Linked DNA regions of Homo sapiens: regions 1, 2, 4 and 5 are each linked to region 3. Evidence: promoter capture Hi-C in human tissues and cell types (Jung and others, 2019). All regions are on one chromosome and are shown on one strand. The core of a region is centred on a gene start or on the middle of the fragment in contact, and the rest is flanking DNA. Distances in the headings are between cores, read along the strand shown. Region 1 overlaps ZFYVE28 (zinc finger FYVE-type containing 28). Region 2 overlaps FAM193A (family with sequence similarity 193 member A). Region 3 holds the start of RNF4 (ring finger protein 4). Region 4 overlaps FAM193A (family with sequence similarity 193 member A). Region 5 overlaps FAM193A (family with sequence similarity 193 member A).

Region 1 (2,700 bases), core at 90-2,589, 160 kb before region 3:
TCAAGAGCTCCTCCCACCTCAGCCTCCCAAAGTGTTGGGATTATAGGCATAAGCCACTGTGCCTGGCCTTTGTTCTTTTTTTATGAAGTACACACAGCAGAAAAGCATACATATGTTCACCTGGAGACACACACAGGGGTAGTCACAGCAGCACTATTTGTGGAAACTACCCAAAGCCCATTGAGAGTAGAACAGACAACGTTCTGCTGCTGCTTGGCTATTCCAGGCCCCTTGCATCTCCACATGCATTTTAGTATTAGTTTATCAATTTCTACAAGGAAGGAAGGAAGGGAGGGAGGGAGGGAGGGGAGGGGAGGGGGAGGAGAGAATGCAGAAAGAAAGAGAAAGGAAAGAAGGAAAGCAAGAAAGGAAGGAAGGAGAGACAGAGAGAGAGAAAGAAAGAAAGAAGACAGAAAGAAAGAAAGAAAGAAAGAAAGAAAGAAAGAAAGAAAGAAAGAAAGAGAAAGAAAGAAAAGAAAAGAAAAGAAAAAAGAAAAGAAAAGAAAGAAAAAAGAAAAGAAAGGAAGGAAGGAAAGAAAAGAGAGAAAGAGGGAGGGAGGAAGGAAGGAAGCTAGCTAGCTTCTGGGATTTTGATTGAGACTGCATTGAACTCATAGATTAATTTGAGACCAACTGATATCTTCATAACATCAGGGGTTCCTCTCTCTGAATGGAATTGCTGTCCAGGGCTTTAAAAATTTATGGTAATAACATTTTATAACTTTCAATGGAGGTCTTGGACATCGTTAATTTGATTTATGCTTACGTATTTGATATTTACTGGCACTACCATAGGTGGTATTTGCTATGGTTTAGGGGTGGTTTGTCCCCATCAAAACTCAGGTTGAAATTTAGTTCCCAATGTGGTGGTGTTTAGAGGTGGTGTCTTTAAGAGGTGATTAGGTCATTAAGGAGATTAATGCATTTCTCATGAGACCAAATTAGTTACCACAAGAGTGGGTTGTCATGAAGTGAGGTTGCCTCTTGTGTTTGGCCTCTTTGCACACGCCCCCTTCCCCTCCTGCTTCTCTGCCACGTTATGACAGAGCACGAGGTCCGCACAAGAAATTAACCAGATGCAGCCACTTGATCTTGGACCTCCCAACCTCCAGAATCATGAGCTAAACGAACCTCCTTGCTTTATAAATTACTGAGTCTTAGGTATTCTGTGATAGCAACACAAAATTGACTAAGACAGTATTTTGATTTCATTTCGCATTTATTTATTGCTGGCATACAGAAAGACCACTTATTTTTGTATATTGATGTTTCACCTAGTGACCTTGCTAAATCTACTTATTATTTCTAATAGTTTGAAGATGCTCCTGAGTTTCCTAGGTACTTGATCACGTTATCTACATAAAATGGCAGTTTTAGTCCTTCATTTCCAATGCTGTGTAACTTCCTAATTTTCCTTCTATTTTTGCCTTATTGCACTTGCTGGGCCAGAAAACAATGTTAAATGGAGATAGTGAATAGTAGACATCTTCTTCCCAATCTCAGGGAAGTGTGCTGCAGTACACACACAACAGACAACACACACACAGAGATACGCACGGACGAAATCTGTTTCTATATCTATCTGTGACCAGGTTAAGGAAATTCCCTCCTATTCCTAGTTTGCTAAGAGATGCTTTTCTTGTTCTGTTTTGTTTATTGCTAAGAGATGTTTTCACCATAAAATTGGTGTGAAATTTTTTCAAATGCTTTTCTTGAATCTTTCAAAATTATATGATTTTTCTTCCAATTTTTAAAATTAATGTGGCAAAACATCAATTTGATTTCCATATGTTAAGCCAGTCTTGCATATCTGGAATACATTTCTTTTTTTTTTAATTTTGAGATAATGTCTTGCGCTGTCACCCAGGCTGGAGTGCAGTGGCCTGATCACAGCTCACTGCAGCCTCTGCCTCCCTGGCTCAAGCAGTCATCCCATCTCAGCCTCCCAAGTAGCTGTCAGTACAGATGTGTACCACCATGCTCAACTAATTTGTAAATTTTTTGTAGAGATCAGGTCTTACTATATTGCCCAGGTTGGTCCCAAACTCCTGGGCTCAAGCGATCCTCCTGCCTCAGCCTTCCAAAGTCCTGGGATTACAAGTGTGAGCCACTGTGCCCAGATATATTTCTCTTGGTCATGATATATCTTATTTATATATGGTTGATTTTCATTTGTCTGTATCTTTTTAAGGGTATTTGCATCTATGTTCATGAGAGATTGGTGTAGTTTTTGTTTCTTGTAATATCTTGGTCAGGTTTAAATGTCTAGATTATACTCTTATTGAAAAACAAAAAAAAGAGTTAGGGCTGGGTATGGTGGCTCATGCCTGTAATCACAGCATTTTGGGAGGCCAAGGCAGTCAGATTGCTTGAGCCCAGGAGTTTGAGACCAGCTGGGGCAACACAGTAAAACCCTGTCTCTACAAAAAATACAAAAATTAGTTGGGCATGGTGGTGCATGCCTGTGGTCTCAGCTACTCAGGAGGCTGAGGTGGGAGGATCGCTTGAGCCTGGGAGGCAGAGATTGCAGTGAGTCTAGATTGTGCCACCACACTCCAGCCTGCATGACAAAGTGAGAGTTTGTTCAATAATTATAAAAAAAGTTAGAAAATGTCTTTTTTTCTATTCCCTGAAAGAATTTATATAAGATTTGTGTTATTTCTTCTTTAAATGTTTAGAAGAATACATAAGGAAAGCCAT
Region 2 (2,700 bases), core at 73-2,572, 210 kb after region 3:
GTATTTTTAGTAGAGACAGGGTTTCTACATGTTGGTCAGCTGGTCTCGAACTCCCGACCTCAGGTGATCCACCCGCCTCGGTCTCCCAAAGTGTTGGGATTACAGGTGTGAGCCACCGCGCCCGACCCTGTAGTTTTTCTTACAGTGTCTTTGGCTTTGGTATGGGGATATGCTCAGGACATGAGTTAGAAAGTGTTCCCTCCTCTTCAGTTTTTTGGAAACTTTGAGAAAGATTGGTATTAATTCTTTAAATATTTGGTAGAATTGACTAGTGAAGCCATCAGGTTTGGGGCTTTTCTTTATTGGGTGATTTTTTTTTTTTTCTTTGAGACGGAGTCTTGCTCTGTCACCCAGGCTGGAATGCAGTGGCACAATCTCCACTCACTGCAACCTCCGCCTCTCAGATTCTAAGCGATTCCCTGGCCTCAGCCTCCAAAGTAACTGGAACTACAGGCACATGCCACCACACCCAGCTAATTTTTGTATTTTTAGTAGAGACGGGGTTTTGCCATGTTGGCCAGGCTGGTCTCAAACTCCTGACCTCAGGTTATCCACCCATCTTGGCCTCCCAGAGTGCTGGGATTACAGGCGTGAGCCACTGCGCCCAGCCTATTGGGTGGTTTTTGATTACCAGTTCAATCTCCTTACTAGTTACAGGTCTGTTCAGACTTTTCTATTTCTTTATGATTTCGTCTTGATAGGTTTTGTGTTTCTAAAAATTTTTTCATTTCATCTGTTTTATCCAGTGTGTTGGTGTACAGTTGTTCGTAATACTTTCTTTTTTCTTTGAAACGGCATCTCACTCTGTCACCCAGGCAGGAGTACAATGACATGATCATAGCTCATTGCAGCCTCAAACTCCTGGGCTCAAGCATTCCTCCTCCCTTGGCCCCCCAATAGCTGGGATTACAGGCATGTGCCACCACTCCCAGCTAATTTTTTTTTTATTGTTTTGGACTCTTCCAGAGAGAAGACAGGGTCTCACTATGTTACCCAGTCTGGACTGAAACTCCTGGGCTAAAGCAGTCCTACTACCTCAGCCTCCCAAAGTGCTGGGATTATAGGCATGAGTTACCAAGCCCAGCCAATACTTACTTACTTTTTTTTTTGAGACGGAGTCTTGCTTTGTCACCTAGGCTGAAGTGCAATGGCACCATCTTGGCTCACTGCAACCTCTGCCTCCCAGGTTCAAGAGATTCTCCTGCCTCAGCCTCCCATATAGTTGGGATTACAGGCGCCCACCACCATGCCCGGCTAATTTTTGTATTTTTGGTAGAGATGGGGTTTCACCATGTTGGTCAGGCTGGTCTCGAACCCCTGACCTCAGGTGATCCACCCACCTGGACCTCCCAAAGTGCTGGGATTACAGGCGTGAGCTACAGCGCCGAGCCCAGCCAGTACTTTCTTATAATACCTTTTATGTTTTTTTCTTAATTTTAATTTAATTTTCTGCTTTTTAGAGATATGCTTGCTCTGTTGCCCAGGCTGGAGTGCAGTAGCACGATCATAGCTCACTGGAGCCTCGAACGCTTGAGCTCAAATGATTCTCCTGTGTTAGCCTCCCAAGTAGCTATGATTACAGGTGTGCGCCACCACTCCCAGCCCCTTTTATTTCTGTGTAATCAATAATAATGTCCCCACTTTCATTTCTGATTATAGTAATTTGAGTCTTTTTTTTTTCTTACTCCATCTCACTAAAGTTTTGTCAGTTTTGTTTCTCTTTTCAAAGAACTATATTTTGGTTTCATTGATTTTTTTTTTCCCCTATTGTTTTTCTATTCTCTATTTCATTGATCATTAATCTCTGCTCTAAATTACCTTTCTTCTGCTAGCTTTGGGTTTAGATTGTTCTTTTTCTAATTCATTAAGATGTGAAGTTAGGGAGGGTTTTTTGTTTCATTTTATTTGTTGTTGTTATTGAGACAAAGCTTACTCAGTTGCCCAGCCTGGAGTGTAGTGGTGCGATCTTGGGTCACTGCAACCTCGACCTCCTGGGCTCAAGCAATCCTCCTGACCCATAGTCTCGTAGCTTGGACTACAGGTGTGTGCCACCATGCCCAGCTATCTATCTGTCTGTCTATGTATTTATTTACGTAGGGACGGAGGTCTCACCATGTTGCCCAGGTTGGTCTCAAACTCCTGGGCTCAAGCAGTCCTCCTGCCTCAGCCTCCCAAGGTGCTGGAATTACAGGCATGAGCCACCACGCCTATCCTAGTTAGGTTGCTGATAGAGATCTTTCTTGTTTTTTGATGTGTTTGTAGCTATACATTTTGCTCTTAGTGCTTGCTTTCACTGCGTCCCGTAAGTTTCAGTATGTTATGTTTTTGTTTTCATTTGTCTCTAAGTATTTTCTGCTTTTCTTTGTAATTTCTTTATTGATCCATTGGTTGTTTCCATCCCTTTACTTTTAACTTCTCAGGGTTTTTTTTTTTTTGGTTTTTTTTTTTTTTTGAGACAGAGTCTTCCTCGGTCGCCCAGGCTGGAGTGCAGTGATGCGATCTCGGCTCACTGCAAGCTCCACCTCCTGAGTTCACACCATTCTCCTGCCTCAGCCTCCCAAGTAGCTGGGACTACAGGTGCCCACCACCATGCCCGGCTAATTTTTTGTATATTTAGTAAAGACAGGGTTTCACCATGTTAGCCAGGATGGTCTCGATCTCCTGACCTTGTGATCCGCCCACCTCAGCCTCGCAAAGTGC
Region 3 (2,787 bases), core at 83-2,582:
TTACAATTACGAAAAATAGCAAACACATATTGTTTGTAAATGCAACACAAAAACGTTAATGCTCTGGTTTCTATCTGCCTTGTCATTCCGTTATTTGACTCCATTTTCGAGGTTAGAAACTCACTGTAAGGTGGCCGGGCGAGGTGGCTCACACCAGTAATCCCAGCACTTTTGGAGGCCAAGGAGGGTGGATCACCTGAGGTCAGGAGCTCGAGACCAGCCTGGCCAACATGATGGAACTCCATCTCTACTAAAAATACAAAGAAAATTAGCCGGGCGTGGTGGCAGGCGCCTGTAATCCCAGCTATTCGGGAGGCTGAGGCAGGAGAATCACGTGAACCCAGGAGGTTAGAGCTTGCAGTGAGCCGAGATCGCGCCACTAAAACAAACAAACTCACTGTAAGGAAACAATGTAACCCAAGGCATTTGGGGTGACCTTCACGTTGCCTGAGGGTGCCGAGGGACCAGAGATGCTGGCCATGGACTAAGGTCTGGGTATTCTCAGGCAGCAGGGACAAGGTGGGCTTTTTTCCTGGTTGCTAAACCCACGTCAAAGTCGAGCTCAGGGACTGGAGCTCAAGAAACCCACCGCCCATTCTCCAGTCCGACCGGGGACCTGCATGCACCTCTGCCGTGCTGCCCTGAGTCCTCCAATCCTCCACACTCTTCCTCTGTTATGTACACGTCTCCACCCAGGCCTGCAAAAGTCCCAGCTTCCTCGCAGGGGCAGGGACCCGCACGCCGGCCCAGGGCTTGGCACGCGGGGATGCTGAAACAGGGCCAGGCCTGGTTTCCAGCCGATCGTCAGAGTCCCAAGGCCCAGCAACCTTCCTCACAAAGGCCTCGTTAAGAGGCGAGGAAACAAGAGCCGGGAGAGGGGCGCGGAACGGCGGGCGGGACGAACGACCAGCTCCGCGCCTCCGGCCAGCTGCGTCGAGCCAGGGGCACCGCGGCTGTTGTGCGGCTGGAAATCTAGGAATGGGAAGGTTCGGGGCCTGCTCGGCTCCGGAGGCAGCTGGCGGGTCGTCCCTGGCGGCGTTGGAGCGGTCAGTGGCAGCCGGGCACGGGCGACCGGGTCGCCCGGGTCGCCCTCAGACCGTGACTCCCGAAAAACCTTGCGGGCGGGGCGCGCCCGCGCCGTCTCTTGCCGGAAGGTGCGAGTTAGTGCGCTCGATTGTGGGCGGGGGCGGAAAGAGGCGCGTTTTAAAGTGGTAACAGATGGTTTTCTTATCCAATAGGATTAAAAAATTTGTCCTTACCCGGCCGACCGCGGAAGTAGAGTAGGCGGGCGGCCAATGGGGACATGATGGGGGGCGGAGCCGAGGCCTCCGAAGCGGAAGTGGGTTGCTGTTGAGGCGGCGGCATCTTTCTCGAGGAGCTCTCCTGGGCGGCTGAAGAAGGAGCTTCTTCTCCGGAGTGCGCCGGCGGTGGCGCCTGCGGACCTAACTAGCTCCAGGTTAGGCCGAGCTTTGCGGGAAAGCAGCGGTAAGTCAGGGCCTTGCAGATGCGAGGTTTAGGCAGCTTCGCGGCCTACAGAGGCCTCGGCCCGCGCCTCTTGGGGGAGCCGCGCTGCGCGGCTTGACCCAGCCGAGGCTTTGCAGCCCGGGACCTCGAGCCAGCTCTGGTCGCTCGCACTGCCGTCCGCGCGGGCGCACCGAGCCCGGCTTGGCGCGGGCAACAGAAGTTAGGAGGTCTGCGTCTGGGTCTCGGCTCACCCTGGGGGGCCGCGGCCATGGGGCTTAGTTCCTAGCCTAGGAAGGGAAACTGAGACTCTGGGAGGGGCAGGAACGCCCCCAAGGTCACTTGGAAAGTCGGGCAGGATGTGCTGTTAGGGGGAAGACCCGGGCAGGGTTTTTGTTCCCCGCTGACGACGCCTCCTTTGTGTGTTCGCGCCGCCGCCCCGCCATCGTGGGGCCTGCGAGTTTGCCGGGGTGCGTGGGCCGCGTGGCGGGGCCTTTTGTAGGTCGGGAGGATCTGAGTACGGGTGCGGGCCTGACCGTGGGGGCGCCGAGGTCGCAGTCTAAAACTTAGTAGGGCCTCGATTTCCGGGCGCGCTTCCGGGCCCCGGCTGGTGGTTGGTGGAACGTGCGACTGTGAGGCTTGCGGCCCAGCCCTGCACCGCTCGGGCCCTTCACCGCTCTGGCGCGCCTATAGACAGGTGTATGAAGATTCTCACGACCCGAAACAGAGTTGCTAGTAAACACCGCTTTTCCGCCTTTGATCCATCGAGGGAAGAGGGAAAAGGATAGAGCTTGGGCAAGCCGTTTTGGTAGGGATTTCAGCTTTTGTCTTTCACTTGTCAGTTCCCATAGACGTTCACAAACTTAATAATCTTCGTTCTGTTTCTGCACCAAGTTCTTGAGCCAGACGTAGGGTCTCAGCTCTGGAGCCTGGCTTAGACTGTCCAACTGACTGGGGAGACTGAGGTCCAGAAAAGTGAAGTGGTCTGCCCAAGGTCACATAGCCAGCTATTTGGCAGCAGATGAGGTTAAGTCCTACCTGCAAGATTTGGGTTTTGAATTCATTGACCAGGAGTTTTGGGACCACTGTCAATAAAAGAGACATTGAAGGGAATCTTTTGTTACTTTCTTGGTGATTTGCTTTTTAATGGACAAGGACATATTGGGTTCAGTTTTATCTGTGAGTTTGAGGTGAAATAGAGGCATTCGAGTAGCAAGATATATTGCTGGCTTTTGTATTGCCTGAATTTGAGCTTCCAAAAATCTTACTTTAACACATCGTTTATTGATCTTTTCTTGAATTACTACCTTTGTAAGGACCTTTTGT
Region 4 (2,700 bases), core at 86-2,585, 190 kb after region 3:
ACAGATGGCACCAGTGTTGTGGCATGCTTACCTCTTCCCTTTCCCCATTCTGCATGTGTCCCTGTGCTTTTGTTGTTGTTGTTGTTTTGAGACAAAGTCTCACTCTGTCGTCCAGGCTGAAGTGCAGTGGCGTGAACTCGGCTCACTGCAACCTCTGCCTCCCGGGTTCAAGCGGTACTCGTGTCTCAGCCTCCTGAGTAGCTGGGATTACAGGTGCCAGCCACCACGCCTGGCTAATTTTTGTATTTTTAGTAGAGATGGGGTTTCACCATGTTGGCCAGGCTGGTCTCAAACTCCTGACCTCAGGTGATCCGCCTGCCTCTGCCTCCCAAGGTGCTGGGATTACAGGCGTGAGCCACCTTTCCCGGCCATCCCGTCCTTTTGAGTGGCCCTTCCAGCTGCCACCTGTCCCATTGCCAGAGTGGGTCCAGAGTTCCTTCTCCTTTGAAATGCAGATGCTCACCTTGTCTGTTAGAAGTTGAGGTGCCATTTCCTCAATAGCTCCGAGGCCGACCCCTTGCCCTCCACGTGCCACTTTTCATTCCTACAGCTCTGTTCTCAGTACCTTGCAAGTACCAAGCACATGGCAGACAGGGTAAAGGCCGGGTTTCTGCATCAGGTGTGTGCTGTGAGGGCGCACTGCAGCATGTTTGCTGAAGACAAAAGCGATTAGGGTCTCCTGGTACCCGAGCCCTTTGCAGCTCAGCCCCCAGCTTGCTGCCGACTCCAGGTCTGCTGCCCCTGTATTCCTGGTCCTGTCCCGCTGAGGAAGCAGTGCCCGTGAACATGATACATGTCAGCAGAATTACTGAAAAATAATGAGCCATGTCTCGGGGAAGGGTCTTGCAAGATTAAAGCATTTTAAAATTTCCTCTAGTTAACCAATAAGAAAGCAGTTACTGGCGAGAACAACTTCACAGACACCATGAGGCACATGTTATCGTCCCGGCTGAGCATGCCCGACTGCCCCAACTGCAACTACAGGAGAAGGTAAGGCTGGGTTGTGGTGTCAGCACGACTGGCCCATTGGACCTTCACTGGGCTGAGTGGAGGCCTAGAACCGACCCTTAGAGAGCATGGTCTAGTCTTGTGCATTGGTTGGCTTGGTAACTGTCCTTAATTCCTGATCAGATGTGCTTGCGATGACTGCAGTCTCTCACACATCCTCACGTGTGGTATCATGGACCCCCCCGTCACTGATGACATCCACATTCACCAGCTCCCACTTCAAGTGGATCCTGCTCCTGACTATCTTGCTGAGAGGAGCCCGCCCAGTGTGTCATCTGCAAGCTCGGGGTCCGGCTCCAGCTCTCCCATCACAATTCAGCAGCACCCCAGGCTCATCCTCACAGACAGTGGCTCGGCACCAACTTTGTAAGTTGTGACTTTGTAATAAAGTTTCCGAAATTTAAGTCGCCCCAGTAATGAGAAATACATACAGTAATGTCCACAGAAGTATGAACATCATTATTGTGCTTTTCATGACAAGGGACCCTGAGGTTTTTAATGCAGCTTTTAAAACATGAAATCAGTAAACCCAAACTTTTAACACTGTTTATCTGGGAAAAAAAAAACATGGTAAATTAATAAAGGCCAGTAAAGAAAAAACATGTTGGTATGCAGAGAAGAAGTGTCTCTAATTCCGGCCTCACATCTCCTCATTCTCCTAAAGGGTGACCAGTCCGCCGTCTGTCCTGTCTCCCTGTCAGCCCAGCACTCATGCTTGTTTCATGTCTTGCTAAGAACTCAGGTGATCGCTTTAGCAAGCAGTTGAAGGTTTCTGTTTTTCATGTTCCCGCATGATTAGAAGTACATTGTTGTGCAGCTGTCACCAATTCACATTGTAGTTGGCTGTTCCCAGATTTCTTCAGAGTTGTGACCCTGTCATTTGGGGAGGCTTCACATGCTAATTTCCAAAAGGGTTGCACTTGATCATATGTAGTTGCCAAAGTCAGCTTAGGTTTAGTTTACGTGTATCGTAGAGCACACAGGCATCATGTTCCATGTGGAAGTGTGCAGTGGGAGAGATTGTTGTTCCTGACCTTGGCTATGCAGCGTTTCTGGGATTTCTCTGACCAACTGACTTGTGTTCATTCCTTCTGTCTGGATTTCTCATGGTGACTGACGTTTTCCTTCAGTCTTTCCATTTTCAATTTGGGCTTGTTCTCAGACAAAATAATTCTGAAAGGACTGGTTTAAACTCACTGACTCTCTTCATACAAAGATTGCAGGCTGCTGTTTATTGCCTTAGAGACACTGTGTACTCTCCAGGGCACAAGAAAGAGTGTTGACATTTTTGCAGCTGGCTGTTATCCAACTTCTTACTGAAACATAAAAATTAAACATATATAGCCTAATGAAAATTTAAGATGGAAAATTTCATCCCTGTTCATTTGTCACAGCTGCTGATGTCAGTTATGGTCTCTTGTGTCACGTGTGGTAGTGGAAGAAATTGGCTGTGGGAGCCTTTCTCCTTGGGCCGGAACTGCCCATCACCAGTTACGGGGAGCCTAGGTTCTCGGGACATCTGGGCCTTCAGCAGCTTGTGATCAATGTCTTCCAAATGTAAACTATGATTTGAAAATCTCCAGTGTTATCTTTTCATTTGTATTGTCTCTTTCTTGGTGCCTTTTCTAAGTTGGTTAAAAAGAACAATGTGATTGTAGTCAGTGTACCACACAGTACTTCCTGGATCTTATG
Region 5 (2,700 bases), core at 81-2,580, 230 kb after region 3:
GATAGATCCACGAAGTTTTACTTGATGCTATAGATGAGAATCTTTTACGAACACTCTTTATGTTGCTGTTTTGATTGTCTGAGATTCGGTCAGTGGGAGCCCCCTCGGAATGGCTTTTTCCTTAGACCATTTGATGCGGCCCTACCAGCCTTTAAGCATTTTATACTTTGTGTCATGGTTCGATGCTCCGGGCTCATCTCGTGTCTTCTCTCTCCCAGCCCTGAACCAGCCATTTCTCCAAGGAGCCCTCCTCTTTCTTCAACAGTGGTGTTCAGAAACCCAGACCTGGACACTGCCATATGGCATTGCTTTTAGGCCCTCTCAGTCAGCAGAGCAGGAGGAGTGGGGGTGTGAGCATGTGCACACGAGCGCCTGCCACCTACACACACTAATTGCTATGTACAAGCCGTGAGTTCCCACAGATATCCCAGCCCCACTCCTGTGCTACAGTGAGCGTTCTCCCTTCCCCGTCCACCTTTGTAACTCCTTAGACAGTAAGAACCTGGACCCCATCATCCATGGTGCCTTTACTGACTTGCTGAGTCCTACAACACAGGTAAAGGGTTCAGAAGTCCCTGCCCTTACCCGATGGAAAACTCCGGGCATGCTTTCGGTATTTGTTCAGTTCTTTTTGTCTTTAGCCTCAGGGTGTGGTGATTACACTGAATTTACAAATGACTTAAATTAGTTCTTTTCACCTTTAGTACAATTACGTTATTGATTGAAAACACACCTGATTGCGTTTTTCCATTTGTGTTCCATTTGTTTTCTCCCCTACCCAGTTCCTCTTTTTTTTTAATCTGTTCCCACCCACTCCCTGTAGGTAACTAATCAGTTTCTTATTTGCTTTTCTTTTTTACATAAAAGGTAGTGTATTATAGACATAATAGTGACTTCTGGGTTCTTTTCTACTTCATATATTCTGGGAATCACTGCACATCAGTTCGTAGAGATTGTCCTCATTCTTTCTGCAGCGACACGGTACTCCATTTAAAGTGTACGATGATTTCTGCAGTCACTCTTCTTTGTGCGAGCGTTTAGGTTGTTTCTAATGCTTTGGTTTTTTGTTTTTGTTTCTGTTTTAAGGTGGAGTCTCACTCTGTCATCTAGGCTGGAGTGCAATGGCGCAATCTCGGCTCACTGCATCCTCCACCCCCCAGGTTGAAGCAATTCTCCCACCTCAGCCTCCCAAGTAGCTGAAATTACAGGCACGTGCCACCATACCCAGCTAATTTTTGTATTTTTAATAGAGATGAGGTTTCACCATGTTGGCCAGATTGGCCTTGAACTCCTGACCTTAAGTGACCTGCCCACCTTGGCCTCCCAAAGTGCTGGGATTACAGGTGTGAGCCACCGTGCCCGGACTCAATGCTTTGTTTTAATCATTACACCCAGTGCTACAGTAAGTACTTGTGTGCATATGTGTTTCCATATTGTTTGGAGGTGTTTCCTTGGAGCACTTTCCCAGAAGGGAGAGGGCTGGGTCAAAAGGTAAGTGTGTTCCCGGTGTGGTGGCTCACGCCTGTAATCCCAACACTTTGGGAAGCTGAGGCAGGAGGATTACCTGAGGCCGGGAATTTAAGACCAGCCTGGGCAATATAGCAAGACCCCATCTCTACTAAAAAAAAAAAAAAAAGCCACTTATCTGGGCATGGTGGTGCACGCCTGTAGTCCCAGCTACTTGGGAGGCTGAGGCAGGAGAATCGCTGGAGCCCAGGAGTTTGAGGCTGCGGTGTGTCATGATTGCACCACTGCACTCCAGCCTGGGTGACAGAGTGAGACCCTGTCTCTTAAAATTTAAAGCAGCCGGGCATGGTGGCTCACGCCTGTTATCCCAACATGTTGGGAGGCCGAGGGAGGCGGATCACGAGGTCAGGAGATGGAGACCATGCTGGCCAACATGAAACCCCGTCTCTACTAAAAATACAAAAATCAGTTGGGCGTGGTGGCACACGCCTATAATCCCAGCTACTCGGGAGGTTGAGGCAGGATAATTGCTTGAACTGGGGAGGTGGAGGTTGCAGTGAGCCGAGATCACACCACTGCCCTCCAGCCTGGCAACAGAGTGAGACTCCATCTCAAAAAAAAAAAAAAAAAATTAAGGCTGGGCATGGTGGCTCACATCCATAATCCCAGCATTTTGAGAGGCCAAGACAGGCAGATCACTTGAGGTCAGAAGTTCGAGGCCAGCCTGACCAACATGTGGAACCCTGTCTCTACTAAAAATACAAAAATTAGTCGGGTGTGGTGGCACTCACCTATAGTCTCAGCTACTGGAGACACCGATGCAGGAGGATCACCTGAGCCTGGGAGGCGGAGGTTGCAGTGAGTCAAGATCACGCCACTGCATTCCAGTCTGGGCAACAGAGCAAGACCCTATCTGAAAAAAAAATAAAATAAAAATTTTTAAAAAGGTAAGTGCTTTCATAGTTTTTTTGCTAGCTACGTCCAAGTTCTCCAAACCCTCCAGTCAGCCCACCCACCAGCAGCATCTGAGTGCCTGTTTGGCCACAGCCTTGCTTATAGAGTAGTTGTCAGGCTTTTTAACTGTTGCCAATCCGTTAGCTACAGTAAGCCCTCAGTGTAGTTTTCATTTGCATTTTTCTCCTCTAATTACAATGAGGTCAATATATTATTAAGGGCTATTTCTTTTTGTGTGTATGAATTTTCTATTCATACCTATTTCTCATTTCTTACTAG

Evidence for each region. The method cuts DNA at HindIII sites, captures the fragments that hold promoters and counts their contacts. A contact is called where the count stands out against the background at its distance.
Region 1: a fragment that was not itself captured here is called in contact with the fragment with the promoter of RNF4 in region 3 in 2 of the 25 tissues and cell types used here (dorsolateral prefrontal cortex and mesenchymal stem cells).
Region 2: a fragment that was not itself captured here is called in contact with the fragment with the promoter of RNF4 in region 3 in 2 of the 25 tissues and cell types used here (dorsolateral prefrontal cortex and hippocampus).
Region 4: a fragment that was not itself captured here is called in contact with the fragment with the promoter of RNF4 in region 3 in 2 of the 25 tissues and cell types used here (IMR-90 fibroblasts and aorta).
Region 5: a fragment that was not itself captured here is called in contact with the fragment with the promoter of RNF4 in region 3 in 1 of the 25 tissues and cell types used here (mesenchymal stem cells).

What each region holds. Positions count from the first base shown.
Region 1 is chr4:2,308,217-2,310,916 of GRCh38, forward strand. The region is part of intron 7 of ZFYVE28 (zinc finger FYVE-type containing 28); the gene reads right to left. Among named protein-coding and RNA genes, the nearest start is that of MXD4, 47 kb to the left of the region's middle. The HindIII fragment of the contact is 7,202 bases long and covers 1-2,700 here.
Region 2 is chr4:2,679,551-2,682,250 of GRCh38, forward strand. The region is part of intron 13 of FAM193A (family with sequence similarity 193 member A); the gene reads left to right. Among named protein-coding and RNA genes, the nearest start is that of TNIP2, 75 kb to the right of the region's middle. The HindIII fragment of the contact is 5,686 bases long and covers 1-2,700 here.
Region 3 is chr4:2,467,774-2,470,560 of GRCh38, forward strand. It overlaps RNF4 (ring finger protein 4), which reads left to right and starts at 1,333. Exons shown (of 8, transcript NM_002938.5): 1 at 1,333-1,485. LOC107986250 (a long non-coding RNA gene) reads right to left here and starts at 1,178. Exons shown (of 2, transcript XR_001741551.3): 1 at 627-1,178. RefSeq lists a silencer at 876-1,045 and enhancers at 1,196-1,555, 1,239-1,811, 1,856-1,975. The HindIII fragment of the contact is 20,287 bases long and covers 1-2,787 here.
Region 4 is chr4:2,658,681-2,661,380 of GRCh38, forward strand. FAM193A (family with sequence similarity 193 member A) reads left to right here. Exons shown (of 21, transcript NM_001366318.2): 9 at 878-990; 10 at 1,132-1,374. Among named protein-coding and RNA genes, the nearest start is that of TNIP2, 96 kb to the right of the region's middle. RefSeq lists enhancers at 1-341, 342-841. The HindIII fragment of the contact is 4,879 bases long and covers 1-2,700 here.
Region 5 is chr4:2,702,182-2,704,881 of GRCh38, forward strand. All of the region lies in intron 19 of FAM193A (family with sequence similarity 193 member A), which reads left to right. Among named protein-coding and RNA genes, the nearest start is that of TNIP2, 53 kb to the right of the region's middle. The HindIII fragment of the contact is 5,214 bases long and covers 1-2,700 here.